4 separate regions of the Homo sapiens genome follow, and regions 1, 2 and 4 are each linked to region 3. Evidence: promoter capture Hi-C in human tissues and cell types (Jung and others, 2019). All regions are on one chromosome and are shown on one strand. The core of a region is centred on a gene start or on the middle of the fragment in contact, and the rest is flanking DNA. Distances in the headings are between cores, read along the strand shown. Region 1 has its middle 42 kb from the start of ZCCHC14-DT. Region 2 overlaps KLHDC4 (kelch domain containing 4). Region 3 holds the start of JPH3 (junctophilin 3). Region 4 overlaps ZCCHC14-DT (ZCCHC14 divergent transcript).

Region 1 (3,236 bases), core at 493-2,992, 67 kb after region 3:
CTGCCGCTGTGCCACAGCCCTGTTCTAAGCCTTGTAAGCATATTCACTCATTTACTCCTCAGGACTCTGGGAGATATTATTACCCTCTGCTATGAATTGTGTGCCCCTAAAATTCATATGTTGAAGCCCTCACCCCCAGTATGACTGTTTGGAATAAGGAAGTGATTAAAGTTTGCCGAGGCCGTGAGGGCAAGACCCAGATAAGGTAGGGATTAGTATCTGTATTAGCATGTTATCACACTGTTATAAAGAAATATCCAAGACTGGGTAATTTATAAAGGAAAGAGGTTTAATTGACTCACAGTTCCACATGGTTGTGGATGCCTCAGGAAACTTACAATCACGGAGGAAGGCGAAGAGGAAGCAAGGATCTTCTTCACAAGGCGGTAGGAGAGAGAAGAGCAAGAGAGAGCAGGGAAAACTGCCTTATAAAACCACCAGATCTCGTGAGAACTCCCACTGTCACAAGAACAACACGCGGGAAACCACCCACATGATCCAATCACGTCCCACCCAGTCCCTCCCTCAACACTTGGGGATTAAATTCAAGATGAGATTTGGGTGAGGACACGGAGCCAAGCCATATCGGTATCCTTGAGGCAGGAGAATAGCGTCTGGAGGCAGGGAACCTAAGGCTCTTTCACGCTGATTTCCTAGAACTAAATTGAAAGGAGAGCCCTAACTTTCCACATCTAAATAACAAAAGGACCAGAGGCTACCCCTTTGCAAACCCCTACCTTTTCTGCCAGGCAGATGGGAAATTGAAAGTACCTCTGATTGATCGCTTTTTGCAACCAATCAGACGTTTGTATTGGAATGTAACTTTGTAACTTCACTTCAGCCTCTGATTGTGTGCTTTCCACAACCAATCAGATGTTTGCATAGGAGTGTGAGCTTTGTAACTTCACTTGACCAATCAGACCGATTGCAGGCCGCCACTTCATTTACATGGGGTGAACACCAAGTGGCCACTGGGAAACCTCTAGGGGGTATTTGGACCCGAGAAGATACAGTATCTGGGGCCCTTGAGCCCCTATGCCGGGGCTTACTTTCACCCTGTGGAGTGTACTTTCATTTTCAATAAATCTTTGCTCTTGTTGCTTCATTCCTTTCTTGATTTGTTTGCACATTTTGTCCATTTATTTGTTCAAGATGCCAAGAACCTGGACACTTTCCACCGGTAACATTCTCATCAGAGGGACATCAGAGCACATTCTCTCTCTCTCTCTCTCCCTCCCTCCCTCTATGCCACGTAAGGACCTAGGAAAAGGTGGCCAACTACAAGGCAGAAGAAAGCTTCATCAGAACCTGACCCTGTTGGCTCCCTGATCTTGGACTTCCGTCTCTGGAACTGTGAAGTCTAAACCACTCAGTCTATGGCATCTGTGTTATGGCAGCAGGAGCTGAGACATCCTGCATCGTGCAGATGAGGAAACAGAGGTGCAGAGAGGTGAAGCAGATTGGCCGAGGTAGAACAATGAGAAGGCAGGAGAGCTGGGATTTGAATTGAGGTAGTTTGGCTGCCGGTCCAGGCTTTTAATCATGTATTTGGGGCATGCTCCTTTAAAACTAGCAAACAAAAACTCCTAGAGGAATGTGTTTGAAGAAGTCTGGAAACGCCTGGGTTGGAAGGAAAGGGTGTGAGAGTCTATGGTAGACAGAATAGTGACCCCCAAAGATGTCCATATCTTAACCCCCAGAACTTGTGGATATCTACCTTGCCAAGAAAATTACCAAGTAATTTACCTTACTTGGCCGAAGAAACTTTGCAGATGTGGTTTACAAATCTTGAGCTCGGGGGGCTGGTTATCTGGGATTATCCTGGTGGCCCCAATGTCATCACAGGGATCCTGGTGACAGGGAGGCAGAAGTCAGCAAGGAGAGAAGATGCCATCCTGCTGGCTTGGAAGACAGAGGAGGGGCCATGAGCCAAGGAATGCAGGCAGCCTCTAGGAACTGCAGAAGGCAAGCAGACAGATTCTCCCCTGGAGTGTCCAGAAGGAGCAGGCCCGTTTCAGACTTCAGAACTCCTGAACTTTAAGATAATAAATGTGTCCTGTTTTAAGCCACTAGTTTGTGGTAATTTGTTGCAACAATGATAGGGGAAAAATGCAGATTTGGAGGGCAGATGACTAGGGGGATGATGTGGTTGGGGGGAAAGTGATTCTCGGTTTGGAGCTGAAGTAAGGTGGCCTGTATACAGGTTCCTTTGTAATGTGACTTAGCAAATCTGCAAAGGGCTTTGTGATATTGTGATATAATAAGAAATATATATTTGGTCTCCATCCTGGTTCCGGACACAGAGCTCCTAAAATCCTCAGAATTCCCTGAGCAATAAGGGTGGGAAGATCATCTTCGGTTATTCATAATGACAACTCTCTTCGTCCGTTTGTGTTGCCGTAAAGGAATACTTGAGGCTGGATAATTTATATAGAAAAGAGGTTTATTTGGCTCACAGTTCTGCAGGCTGTATGGGAAGCAGGGCACCAGCATCTGCATCTGGTGAGGACCTCGGGAAGCATCCACTCAGGGCAGAAGGTGAAAAGGAGCAGGTGTCATGTGGAGAGGAGAGAGGCAAGCGGGGGAAGCTGCCAGGCTTTTTAAACTATCAGTTCTCTCAGGAACTGCTAGAGCGAGAGCTCTCGAGAACTCACTCATTACTGCATGGACGGCACCAAGACATTCATGAGGCATCCACCCCCATGACCCAAACACCCCCCAACCAGGCTCCAGTCCCAACACTGGGGTCAAAGTTCAATATGAGATTTGGAGGGGACAAATATCCAAACCATTATTAGTAACTACATCTGAGTTTACGCTAATGAGGTGACTCTTGGAGGATGGGGGCTGGTTGCCAGAGGAGGGTTAGAACTTCAGTCCCCCTGCTCCCCAACCCCAACCTCCAGGGAGGGGAGAGGGGCTGGAGATCGACTTAATCCTCAATGGCTGATGATGTCATCAATCATACCTGTCTAATGAGGTCTCCAAAACACCTGTCAATGACTGGAAGGGGGTTTCAAAGAGCTTCTGGGTGGGGTTAGTGAACACATCAAGGTGCAGGGAGGGCAGTGCACCTGGAGAGGGCATGGAAGCTCTGCACCCCTCCTGCGCCTCCCCTACTTACCCCGTCTATTCCACCCCGTCCATCCCACCCTGTCCATGACTTGGCTGTTCCTGAGTCATATCCTTTGTAATAAACCAGTAAAAATAAGCAAAGTGTTTCCCTGAGTTCTGTA
Region 2 (3,626 bases), core at 929-3,428, 120 kb before region 3:
AAGCCACCGCGCCCAGCCGGGTTTCAGATTTTCTTCACTGATATAGTCTCATTAATTTTGTGAATTCGGGGGGAAAAGGGATCCAAATTCTTAAATACTTTTCAAGGGGGAAAGATTTAAAAATGTAATTCAAACTAAAAAGTATTTAAGGCTGGGTACAGTGGCTCACATGTGTAATCTCAGCACTTTGGGAGGCTGAGGTGGGTGGATCACTTGAGGCCAGAAGTTTGAGACCAGCCTGGCCAACATGGCAAAAACTCATCTCTACTAAAAAATACAAAAAATTAGCCAGGTGTGGTGGTGCACACCTTTAATCCCAGGCACTCGGGAGGCTGATACAAGAGAATCGCTTGAACTGGGGAGGCGGATGTTGAAGTGAGCCGCATGCCCAGCTAATTTTTGTATTTTTAGTAGAGACGGGGTTTCACTATGTTCGCCAGGCTGGTCTCGAACTCCTGACCTCATGATCCACATGCCTCGGCCTCCCAAAGTGCTGTGATTATAGGCTTGAGCCCCCGCGCCTAGCCTTATGTTCATTCTTAAAATTTATTTTAAAACAAATAATTGTCAGAATGCACACATAAGTTTGTCAGAGCATTAATTCATTACCTACTATGTGTAGGACAGTGAGATTGTACAGCCCCTTCCTCCTTTGAACTTACAGGTTATAAATCAAATCATGCTTCATGTTTGTTTTAACTTGCAACCATTTTAAAATCAGAACTTTTTTCAAAGCTGTTGTTATCTTGTTTAAAATTATTCAAATACCAACTTGGGAGTTTTCCTTAAACTCTATTCTGCATTTATAGAGAAAATATTCTGTATTTATCTTACGTGCAAAGTAGAATCTTTGTACTAAAAATCTGCGACGTGAAATCTGAAAAAAACAGTGGTCTGTAGCAGTCTTTTAAAGATTACACGCTTCCACATTTCCACATTCCTCAGATTCTATCTATATTAAGAGCCATCGTCCTGCGAAGGATGTGGTCAGTCTGAGTTGCAGTCAGCAAGGTCAGGTTATCTTTTCTTTCTTCTTTTTTTGAGACAGATTCTCACTCGATCGCCCAGGCTGGAGTGCAGTGGCGTGATCAGCTCACTGTAGCCTCCACCTCGTAGGTTCAAACTATTCTCGTGCCTCAGCCTCCTGAGTAGCTGGGATTATAGGCACCCGCCCCCATGCTTGGCTAATTTTTTGTGTTTTTAGTAGAGACAAGGTTTCACCATATTGTCCAGGCTGTTTTTGAACTCCTCGCCTCAAGTGATCTACCTGCCTGAGACTCCCAAAGTGCTGGGATTGCAGGTGTGAGCCACTGTGCCCAGGCTGTTTATCTTAAGACCAGATGTGGCAGCTGGTGCTGGGTAAACGCCCTGTGACTTTTCCTGCTTCACACAAAACAGGAACAAACAGGAGAAAACCGGGCACTTGAGACTTGGGCTAGAGCTGCTTGCTCTTCCATGCTTTCCTTAAAAAATGAGTTTGGCTCTCCTTTTTGAGTAGCTGGAGAGCAGCCCCTTACGCTTTCACGATAATTGTGTCAAAGTTCCACATTAGGACAGGACTTTCTGGGTGCGCCTCCGAGTCTCCCCATGCCTCCAGCAAAGCTGCCACTTCCCTGTTCAGCCCAGTCTGCGTGCTGGGTCCGGCAGGCACTGAGCAGGGCAAGGCTGCGGGGCCTCCTTGCCGCGCTGTGATTTCGGGCACAGAGGGTCGGCTTCTGTGGTCTTCAGTTTCCCTGGAGCGCCCAGTCCCCTCGCTCACCCCTCCAGTCCACTGTGGGGCCTTACCACCCTTGCTGCCAGGCTGCTCACACCTCCGTTCTGATCATCCCTTTGGAGGCGCCATTCACTGCTGCCCTTACGGTTGCACACCTAATAACCTAATGGAATTGTCTCTGATTGTGTTAACTGTGTAAGAAAACGCAGTATGGCTTTCAGATTAAATTCCTCTGCCTCTGTGGGCCAGCATTATTTCCGGTTTTCAAATGCAAACTCATACGTGCTTGTGGTCCTTTCATATCAATTCAAACTTGAATTAAACAGGTGAAAATGTTGCCCTGTCTCCAGGTAGATTGCGTCAAGATTGAGTTTGAGGAGACCTGACTGGCGTCTCTGGCTCGTTGCAGGGAAAGCGGCCACGTTTCTGTGTTGATTGTTGTGTTGGTGTAAGAGCAGAGGAGAAAAATGGTTTGAGTTTTTCCCCAAACAGTAGGAAATTTACCTTTAATTTAAATCAGTTCAGTTTTTAATGTCAGGGCTTTTCCCAATGTTACGGACCCTGACAGCTGCTGTTCTTCTAACCAGGGATTACATCTACTACAACGACGTGTATGCCTTTAATCTGGACACCTTCACATGGAGCAAGCTGTCCCCGTCAGGGACGGGGCCCACACCCAGATCAGGCTGCCAGATGTCCGTCACTCCCCAGGGCGGCATCGTCGTCTATGGGGGCTACTCGAAACAGGTAAGGCGGGGGGTGGGGAAACAGGCAAGGCGTGGGACCGGGAAACAGGCGAGGCGCGGGGTGGGGAGACGGGCGAGGCGCGGGGTGGGGAGACGGGCGAGGCGCGGCGTGGGGAGACGGGCGAGGCGCGGCGTGGGGAGACGGGCGAGGCGCGGCGTGGGGAGACGGGCGAGGCGCGGCGTGGGGAGACGGGCGAGGCGCGGCGTGGGGAGACGGGCGAGGCGCGGCGTGGGGAGACGGGCGAGGCGCGGCGTGGGGAGACGGGCGAGGCGCGGGGTGGGGAGACGGGCGAGGCGCGGCGTGGGGAGACGGGCGAGGCGCGGCGTGGGGAGACGGGCGAGGCGCGGCGTGGGGAGACGGGCGAGGCGCGGCGTGGGGAGACGGGCGAGGCGCGGCGTGGGGAGACGGGCGAGGCGCGGCGTGGGGAGACGGGCGAGGCGCGGCGTGGGGAGACGGGCGAGGCGCGGCGTGGGGAGACGGGCGAGGCGCGGCGTGGGGAGACGGGCCGAGGCGCGGCGTGGGGAGACGGGCGAGGCGCGGCGTGGGGAGACGGGCGAGGCGCGGGGTGGGGAGACGGGTGAGTTGCGGCGTGGGAAAATAGGCGCTGCTGTCTGTGGTCTCTTCAGTTTCATGAACATTGAAGCTTTCACATGGGATTACTCATTGGTTGAATATAAACAGTTCTTTGTATAGAATTAGAAATAGAGATAGTGTTAATCGGCTCCTCTGTGAACTTGGTGCCGTGTTAGGGCCCTGTTCTGTTCTCCACACCCCTGTCAGCAGTGCAGTGTGAGCGATTCTGTGTTCTGAGGGTCTCCTTCCTGCACCATGGACGCTCACTACTGTGTAGTAGTCTCTGTGGAATGAAATTCTCCTCGCTCCTGTTAACGGGCTTGTTTCTTTGGTAACCTGAGAACAGTGCTGACAGGAATGTTCTCGCGCCCACCCCGGAGCCTCCTGCTCTTGGGGCGTGTGCTCTGCACGTGTACTGGCATCTGCTCGTGGAGTGTGTGCTCCTCACATGTGCCTGCTGCTCGTGGGGCGTGTGCTTCACAGAGGCGGCTGGCACAGGCTCTGTCCTCGGAACTCAAGTGTTCCTGTTGCTTCACTCCCATTTCACACTCTGCCAACCTTTACATTTCTGTGAATCTGAGAGGTATGAAGT
Region 3 (3,120 bases), core at 9-2,508:
CTCTGCCCCTGGAAAGCCCCCAACACCCTTCAGCTGGCACAGGGGCACTGTCCCCACCAGGCAGCGGGGCAACCTGTAGCCAGGAGCCGCCGTGGCTTCCAGGGAAGCCCGGGAAAGGCCCCTGGTGCCCACGGCCCAACCGGAGGACGCAGCTCAACTTCCCCAGAGATCCACAGAAGGGGCGCGATCGGAAGCACGTCCCTCCCGCCCCGGCCCGGCCCGGCCCGCGGCACCTACCTCCGTCCGAGTAGGTCTCGGTCCCGTAGCCGTCCTGCAGCCCGTTGCTCCAGGTCCCTTCGTATTTGGCCCCGTTGCCCGCGCACTCCCGCACCCCGTAGCGCCCCTTGAATCCGTGCGTCCACTCGCCCTTGTACACCCACTTCCCCTTGCTCTCCAGGCCGATGCCGTGGCGCTTGCCCTGCGCCCAGGTGCCCTGGTACGTGTTGCCGCTGGGCCAGGTGTAGACGCCCAGCACCTCGAAGCCGTGGCTCCACGAGCCGGTGTATTCGCCTTGGCCCTTGGGGCCGGTGCAGACGCCATGGCCGTGCGCCTTGCCGTCCTCCCAGCCTCCACAGTAGGACCCTCCGTCGTCAAAATTAAACCTGCCCCCACTGGACATGCATGTAACTCGGTTCCAGATCCCGCAAACGGTGAAAACGGACTCAGGCGATCGACACAGCAGAGTCGCGGCCGCCGGCGGCCCTGGGTCGCGAGCGTTTTCCGGAGGAGAGGAGGACGCGGCCCCGGAGCGCGGTCTCGGGCGCGGGCGGCCGCGGCGCCGGCTCCGGAGGAATTTCAGTCAATCGGGGGCGATTATTCCTTTTCGAGCTGCGCCGCGGAGCCTGACCAGCGTCTCGCGCTCCCGCTGGAGACAGGACCGGAGGGGAGGGGGAGGGGAGGAGGGAGGGAGGGGGCAGGAGCGGCGGCGGCGGGGCCCGCGGCTCCACCTCAGCGGCGAGAGGGCCCCTCGCCGGCAGCCCCGCGGGGAGGGCGCCGCGCCGAGGCCGGGCGGGGGGCAGCTCAGGCCCGGGCCGCGGCCCCCCACCTGCGGCTGCCGCGCTGCGGGCGCCCGAGGGCGGCGGCGGGGCCCGCGGGCGGCGGCGGCGGCACGGGCGGCGGCGCTGGCGGCTGCACCATATTGGGGGCCGCGGGCCGGGCGCGGGGCGGCGGCGGCAGCAGCAGCAGCAATGCGGCGGCTCGGGCGGCGGCGGCGGCGGTGGCGGCGGCGGCGTGCGCTCCGGGCCCGGCTCGCGCGCTCGGGCCGCGCGGCGCGCGCCCGCACCCCGCCCGCCCGCGCGCCCCCGCCCGCCCCCCGCCCCCCGCCCCCCGCCCCCGCCCCCGCCCCCGCCCCCGGAGCGCGGCGGTCCCAAGAGGGGCGCGGCCCAGCAGGCTAGGGCGCGGCGCGCGGGCGGGGACCCCGGGCGCCCCGCCCTCCGCGCCCCCAGCCCCGCGCTCCCCGCCCTGGGCTTCCCCGGGGCCCCCGCCGGACTGGAAACCGGGGTCCAGCCGGGGCGCCCCCGCCCCCTCCGGGAGTGGGATTTAAAGGCACAGGAACTGCGTCATGGGAAGGCGCGCAGCACTCAGGGCGCCCTCGGCCCCCTCCCGGGAGCTGGGCGGTGAGGCCTGCAGAGCAGGACCTGCCAGCTGAGCGCCCCTACCCTCGCCCCTGCCCGCCCCCGCGCCTCGCCCCTCCCGCCGGGCTCGGATCTGCCCCGCCTGCCCCTGACTCGACTGAGGCCCTTTGCAAACCACAGGTGGTTTTCTCCGGTGACAAACAATGCTTCCTTCTTCCTTCCGGGCAGCTTGGGTCCAAGAGTGGGGGGAGGGGGGCTTACCCCAGAAAACAGGGATTTGGCGAGTCCCTCTCCCCTATAAATTGAGTGAGAGTCGGGACACACGCGTGTATCTTGGAGCAAAGTCACCCGAATTCCGTGCGCCCTGCGCCCTGGCCAACAGGTAGCGCCCCCCCACTCGGGGAACGGTCGCGCTTTTGGGGAGCAAAGTGGGACCGCCATTCGGGCGTTTCTAGGTCTCTCTCCAGACATACTCTCACCCTCCGCCCCTCTTCCCACGCACAAGAGAGAGTCTGATTCTTGGATCCGAGCATCCTGGGATCCATTTAAAATGCATTTCCTGGACCATAAATCCTCAGGCAGAAGCCGGCGTCCCCAGCCCTCCTGAAATGCGTGCGGGAAATGGCAGCAGACCGGTGCAGTGGGCTGATGGGGGTGTGGAGGCTGCCCAGGGTCCTCGCTCCTGGGAGTGTGGGCCGGTGACCGCAGCGCGGTGAGCCAGAAACTGCAAGCCAGGCCTGGAGCCTGAGATTAGGACAGGAGAAGAGGTGCGATTCGGAGCCTCCAATCAGCCAGGAGCCCTGCTCAGATCTTCCCCTGTCCGAGAGAATCAGGATGGTCCCCACTCTTGGCTCACGGGGCTCTCAGAAAAATCAGCCCCTCCTGGGAGTCCCAGAGTTCAACCTCAGTCTCTTGCCTTGGGCACCAAAGCTCCCTCCCCAGAGTACCAGCAGCCAGGAGGACAGTCACCTCCTCATACACCCACTGTCAATGAGGAACATTTAGGGCGGTCGGCTTTGTTTTGTTTTGTGCAGTTACAGTGATTCATTGAGCTTTCTAGCGCTGTCTCCCTGTGCCCCTCTACAGAAGTTCTCTAAATGTCTGCGGTGGCATCATTGGACCAGCTACGTCTTGGACTTTATTGGAAGCTGCCAAATTGCTTTCCAAACACCTGGAGCAACTGACCTCTCACCCTTCAGTGTGCCTGGGTTTGTGGTTCTCTATTTCCTGGCCAGCACTGGTGTCCTCAAACTTCTGATTTTCTTTCCATTTATTTTACTTTGTTCATCTAAATGGGTATGAAATAATATCTCTGGGCTGTTTCATGTCCATGGAAATTTCTCTGTTGTAAATGTGTGGGCCAAAGGAACTGCACCTTGTCCTCAAGAGATTCGGGTCGAAACCTTGGCTCCGGGGCCCACCAGCAGTATGGCTTTGGGCAGTCACCTAATGTCCCTGAGCTCAGTTTTCTCATCTGTAAAATGGAGATGGCAGAGTTCCCATAGGGTTACCGTGGGAATTCAAAAGCTAGGCGCCCAGCACTCAG
Region 4 (3,645 bases), core at 1,079-3,578, 88 kb after region 3:
TATTAAGAAAAAACTAACATGTCTATACATACATAAACTATCCTCATTCAACAATGACCAGATCCTATGAAATATACATGCATACACACCCACAGGAAAAAACCAGGAAGGACAGCTAACAAAAGGCCAGCGGCGCGGATTGCCGGGCCATGGGGCTACATGCACTTTTAGTTTTCTTCTTTGTATTTTTCTATTTCCGATTTTCTGATTTTATAAGTAGACAACTAAAATAATAATCGCTACCACTGATTATCTCCTTTCCACCTATCAGCACTTAACCTGTGCTGAACGCTTTGTAATGACGATCTCATTCATGTCTCCAACACCCATGGGAGTAGGAATGCTGGTTACCAGCTGTTCCACACACTGGGAAACGGAGGCTCAGGCAGCTATAAAGCAATGGAGCCGGAACCCAAACCCTGGTCATTCTGACTCCAGAACCGAGGCCCTTAACCATTATATTCTAGACACAAACTTCACCCTAAGGGTTTGCACCTTTTTGAGAATTTAACGCCATGTTGCAAGAGGGCACCCAAGGAAAATGTCACCCCTTTGCTGGCCAGGCAGGGACGCTGAGATGCTGACCACAGAGAGCCAGCCTCACAGCACAGCCTAAACAAAGGCCCAGGGCTGCAGGTGAGGACCTCCAAGTCTCTCTGGTCCTGAAAAAGCAACGTGTCTTGTGAGCCAATAAGGAACCCCTTGGATGCCAGCCGGGCTGACGTAGCTCAGGGCATCTCCGAGGCACTGTCAGCTGAGGCAGGACAAAGGAAGGGGATGTTCCCATGGCACCACGCTATGATGCCTTGACAAGGCCCCCTGCACCCTGTTTTGTGGTTCATTCTTATTTTGCTGAAAGGAGCTCTTCCGCTTCCTCCGAGATAAACATTCCTAACATCATTTCTTCTGAGCCGGCCAGCCAAGAGAACAGCTGGGAGCTCTCCGAGCACGGGGAGAGCGTGTTCATTTTCTGGAACTCAGCTGAGAATCTTTTCTCCAGGAGACCCCAATAAGCCATTGCAAATAAACAAAATGAAGTTGCTGGGGAAACTGGCGGCCAGGAAGCTAGAGCTGGTGTAGCCCTGGGGAGAAGAATGGAGTCAGCCCCCAACCCTGGGGTTGCTGGTGCTGGGTGCTGCAGTTGGCGGGCGCTGGGCTCCTCTGGATGCCAGGCTCTGCATGTCCAGAACTGCAATCCTGCATGTCCACGAGGCTGCCCCATTGCACAGATGAGGAAGTTGAGGCTCAGAGAAGTGAAGCGAGGGGTCCCACGGCTGGAATCCAGCCTGAGCGTGGCCTTACAGCTTTCCCACTCTTAAAACTCTCCCAGGTCACAGACTCCTTAAGAATCTGGTGAAAGTTACAGACCCTCTGCTTAAAAAAAAAAAAAAAAAAAAAAAAGTAATCCTGAAGTGCTGAGATTGTAGGTGTGAGCTGCCATGCCTGGCCCCAATGAAAAAACATTTAAAGCTTCATTAATTAAGACCTGCCTGTCACCTTCCACCACGACTGTGAGGCCTCCCTAGCCATGTGGAACTCTCCAGCTCCAAGCAAGGCCTAGTTTAAATGCCACCTTTTCTGTGAAGCCCTATTGGACTTTCTCAGGCTCATTTTCCCTTTGGACTTCTAGAGCATCTTGTAGACAATGGCAATTATCAAGGCCTGGATATATACATTATATAATTGTTATGTAATCATTAATGTGGCACAGAACAACAAATACGGATCTTGCAGACAGAAAAAAAATTGTGGTCATCCTCTTTATGAACTTTCTTGATTGATTTCATAAAACATCTATAATCATTGTTTAATCTGAGCTTTTTTTTTTTATTTTTTGAGACGGAGTTTTGCTCTCGTTGTGCAGGTTGGAGTGCAATGGCATGATCTCAGCTCACTGCAACCTCTGCCTCCCGGGTTCAAGCGATTCTCCTGCCTCAGTCTCCCGAGTAGCTGGCATTACAGGCGCACACTGCCACACCTGGCTAATTTTTGTATTTTTAGTAGAGATGCGGTTTCACCATGTTGGCCAGGCTGGTCCTGAACTCCTGACCTCAAGTGATCTGCCTGCCTTGGCCTCCCAAAGTGCTGGGATTACAGGCATGAGTCACCACGCCCGGCCTGGTCTGGGTTTTTGGATAGCTCATAGACATGAATTCTTCAGGGCAGGAGTCTCCAAAGTGTTTAGATCATAGATCCTAATGGGCAAAACCTTTCCCGCAGGTGCCCACCATATACGTGTATCTTAAAACTTAAGAATTATATATATGCATTGCTGCTCTCATATTTTATGTATAATCATAAAACTCCTAACAAAATGGACTTTTTTTTTGAGATGGAGTCTTGCTGTGTTGCCCAGGCTGGAGTACAGTGGTGTGATCTTGGCTCACTGCAACCTGCACCTCCCAGATTCAAGATTCTCCTGCCTTAGCCCCCTGAGTAGCTGGGATTACAGGTGCACACCACCATACCTGGCCAATTTTTGTATTTTTAGTAGAGACGGGGTTTAACCATGTTGGCCAGGCTGGTCTTGAACTCCTGACCTCAGGTGATCCACCCGCCTCGGCATCCCAAAGTGCTGGGATTACAGGCGTGAGCCACCACGCCCAGCCAAAATGGAAATTTCTAAATGCCAAGTAAAAGATTAAACAAACAATATTCTTTTTAATGTCTTGCTAATTATGATGGTTTCCATTACATCTCAAGGCAAAATATGCATTTGGGGTGAGGATTATTGTCAACAATGATGGATTTTCTAATCTGTACTTCGACTAGACTTCTGGATAATTAGGGTTCGTGTGACTGTCCTCTGCGGGCTGACTGGCTGGCTGCCTTTGTTTTTACCTTGGGATATGTCTGACCAAGAGCACAGGCCAGGAATAAGACAGCTGCTCTGATGCGTTCTCACTCTTTACTCTGCTTGGCTTGTTAGTGTTTCCTTCATTCCACAGTTCCTTTGTATGAATCTTTTTAAGGCATACACCGAATTTAGTTAGAACCAGACAAGATAGGTACCAGCAGCTACAGATCCACTCTGGTAAGCCAATACTTCACCAACGTATGTTGCCATATTTTAAGATGTAACAGACAGGTGTGGTGGCTCACGCCTGTAATCCCAGCACTTTAGGAGGCCAAGGTGGGCAGATTGCTGGAGCCCAGGAGTTCAAGACCAGCCTGGGCCACACAGTGAGGCCCCATCTCTACAAAAAATATAAAAATTAGCCAGGTGTGTTGGCGCATGCCTCTGGTCCCAGCTACTTGGGAGGCTGAGGCAGGAGGATTGTTTGAGCCCAGGATGCAGAGGTCGCAGTGAGCTGAGATCGCACCACCGCACTCCAGCCTGGATTGACAGACCAAGACCCTGTCTCACTTAAAAAAAAAAAAAGAGCTAACAAACTGTCAGATGGGACTTCACCGTGAAACTCCCATTCATCCTGCAAGGTTCCCTTGGGTGACAGCTGAGAAGCCACCACCGCAGTGCCACCAAGCCTGAGGGGTGTCCCTGCCTGTGACCTCAGGTCCCCCTTCTGCCTCTTTAGTCCTCCATTCCTCATTCCACCAATGCCCAATATTAAATTCTCTCTGCTAAACTAACCAGTGCGTTTTCTGTTTTTCTGACTAGACTGTCATGGGTACAGAGAGCCAGTG

Evidence for each region. Contacts are between HindIII fragments. The study calls those that stand out against the background at their distance.
Region 1: a contact is called between a fragment that was not itself captured here and the fragment with the promoter of JPH3 in region 3, in 4 of the 25 tissues and cell types used here (IMR-90 fibroblasts, lymphoblastoid cells, mesendoderm cells and 1 more).
Region 2: a contact is called between a fragment that was not itself captured here and the fragment with the promoter of JPH3 in region 3, in 4 of the 25 tissues and cell types used here (H1 embryonic stem cells, IMR-90 fibroblasts, mesenchymal stem cells and 1 more).
Region 4: a fragment that was not itself captured here is called in contact with the fragment with the promoter of JPH3 in region 3 in 2 of the 25 tissues and cell types used here (H1 embryonic stem cells and bladder).

The regions. Positions count from the first base shown.
Region 1 is chr16:87,534,177-87,537,412 of GRCh38, reverse strand. No RefSeq gene overlaps it. Among named protein-coding and RNA genes, the nearest start is that of ZCCHC14-DT, 42 kb to the right of the region's middle. The HindIII fragment of the contact is 4,449 bases long and covers 1-3,236 here.
Region 2 is chr16:87,725,600-87,729,225 of GRCh38, reverse strand. It overlaps KLHDC4 (kelch domain containing 4), which reads left to right. Exons shown (of 12, transcript NM_017566.4): 7 at 2,302-2,461. Among named protein-coding and RNA genes, the nearest start is that of KLHDC4, 39 kb to the left of the region's middle. RefSeq lists an enhancer at 3,532-3,626. The HindIII fragment of the contact is 6,423 bases long and covers 1-3,626 here.
Region 3 is chr16:87,600,646-87,603,765 of GRCh38, reverse strand. It overlaps JPH3 (junctophilin 3), which reads right to left and starts at 1,258. Exons shown (of 5, transcript NM_020655.4): 1 at 238-1,258. The coding sequence starts at 619. It overlaps LOC124903750 (a long non-coding RNA gene), which reads left to right and starts at 1,583. Exons shown (of 2, transcript XR_007065172.1): 1 at 1,583-1,754; 2 at 2,661-3,120. RefSeq lists an enhancer at 2,157-2,719. The HindIII fragment of the contact is 15,663 bases long and covers 1-3,120 here.
Region 4 is chr16:87,513,245-87,516,889 of GRCh38, reverse strand. ZCCHC14-DT (ZCCHC14 divergent transcript) reads right to left here. Exons shown (of 4, transcript NR_110943.1): 4 at 1,260-1,374. Among named protein-coding and RNA genes, the nearest start is that of ZCCHC14-DT, 21 kb to the right of the region's middle. The HindIII fragment of the contact is 8,088 bases long and covers 1-3,645 here.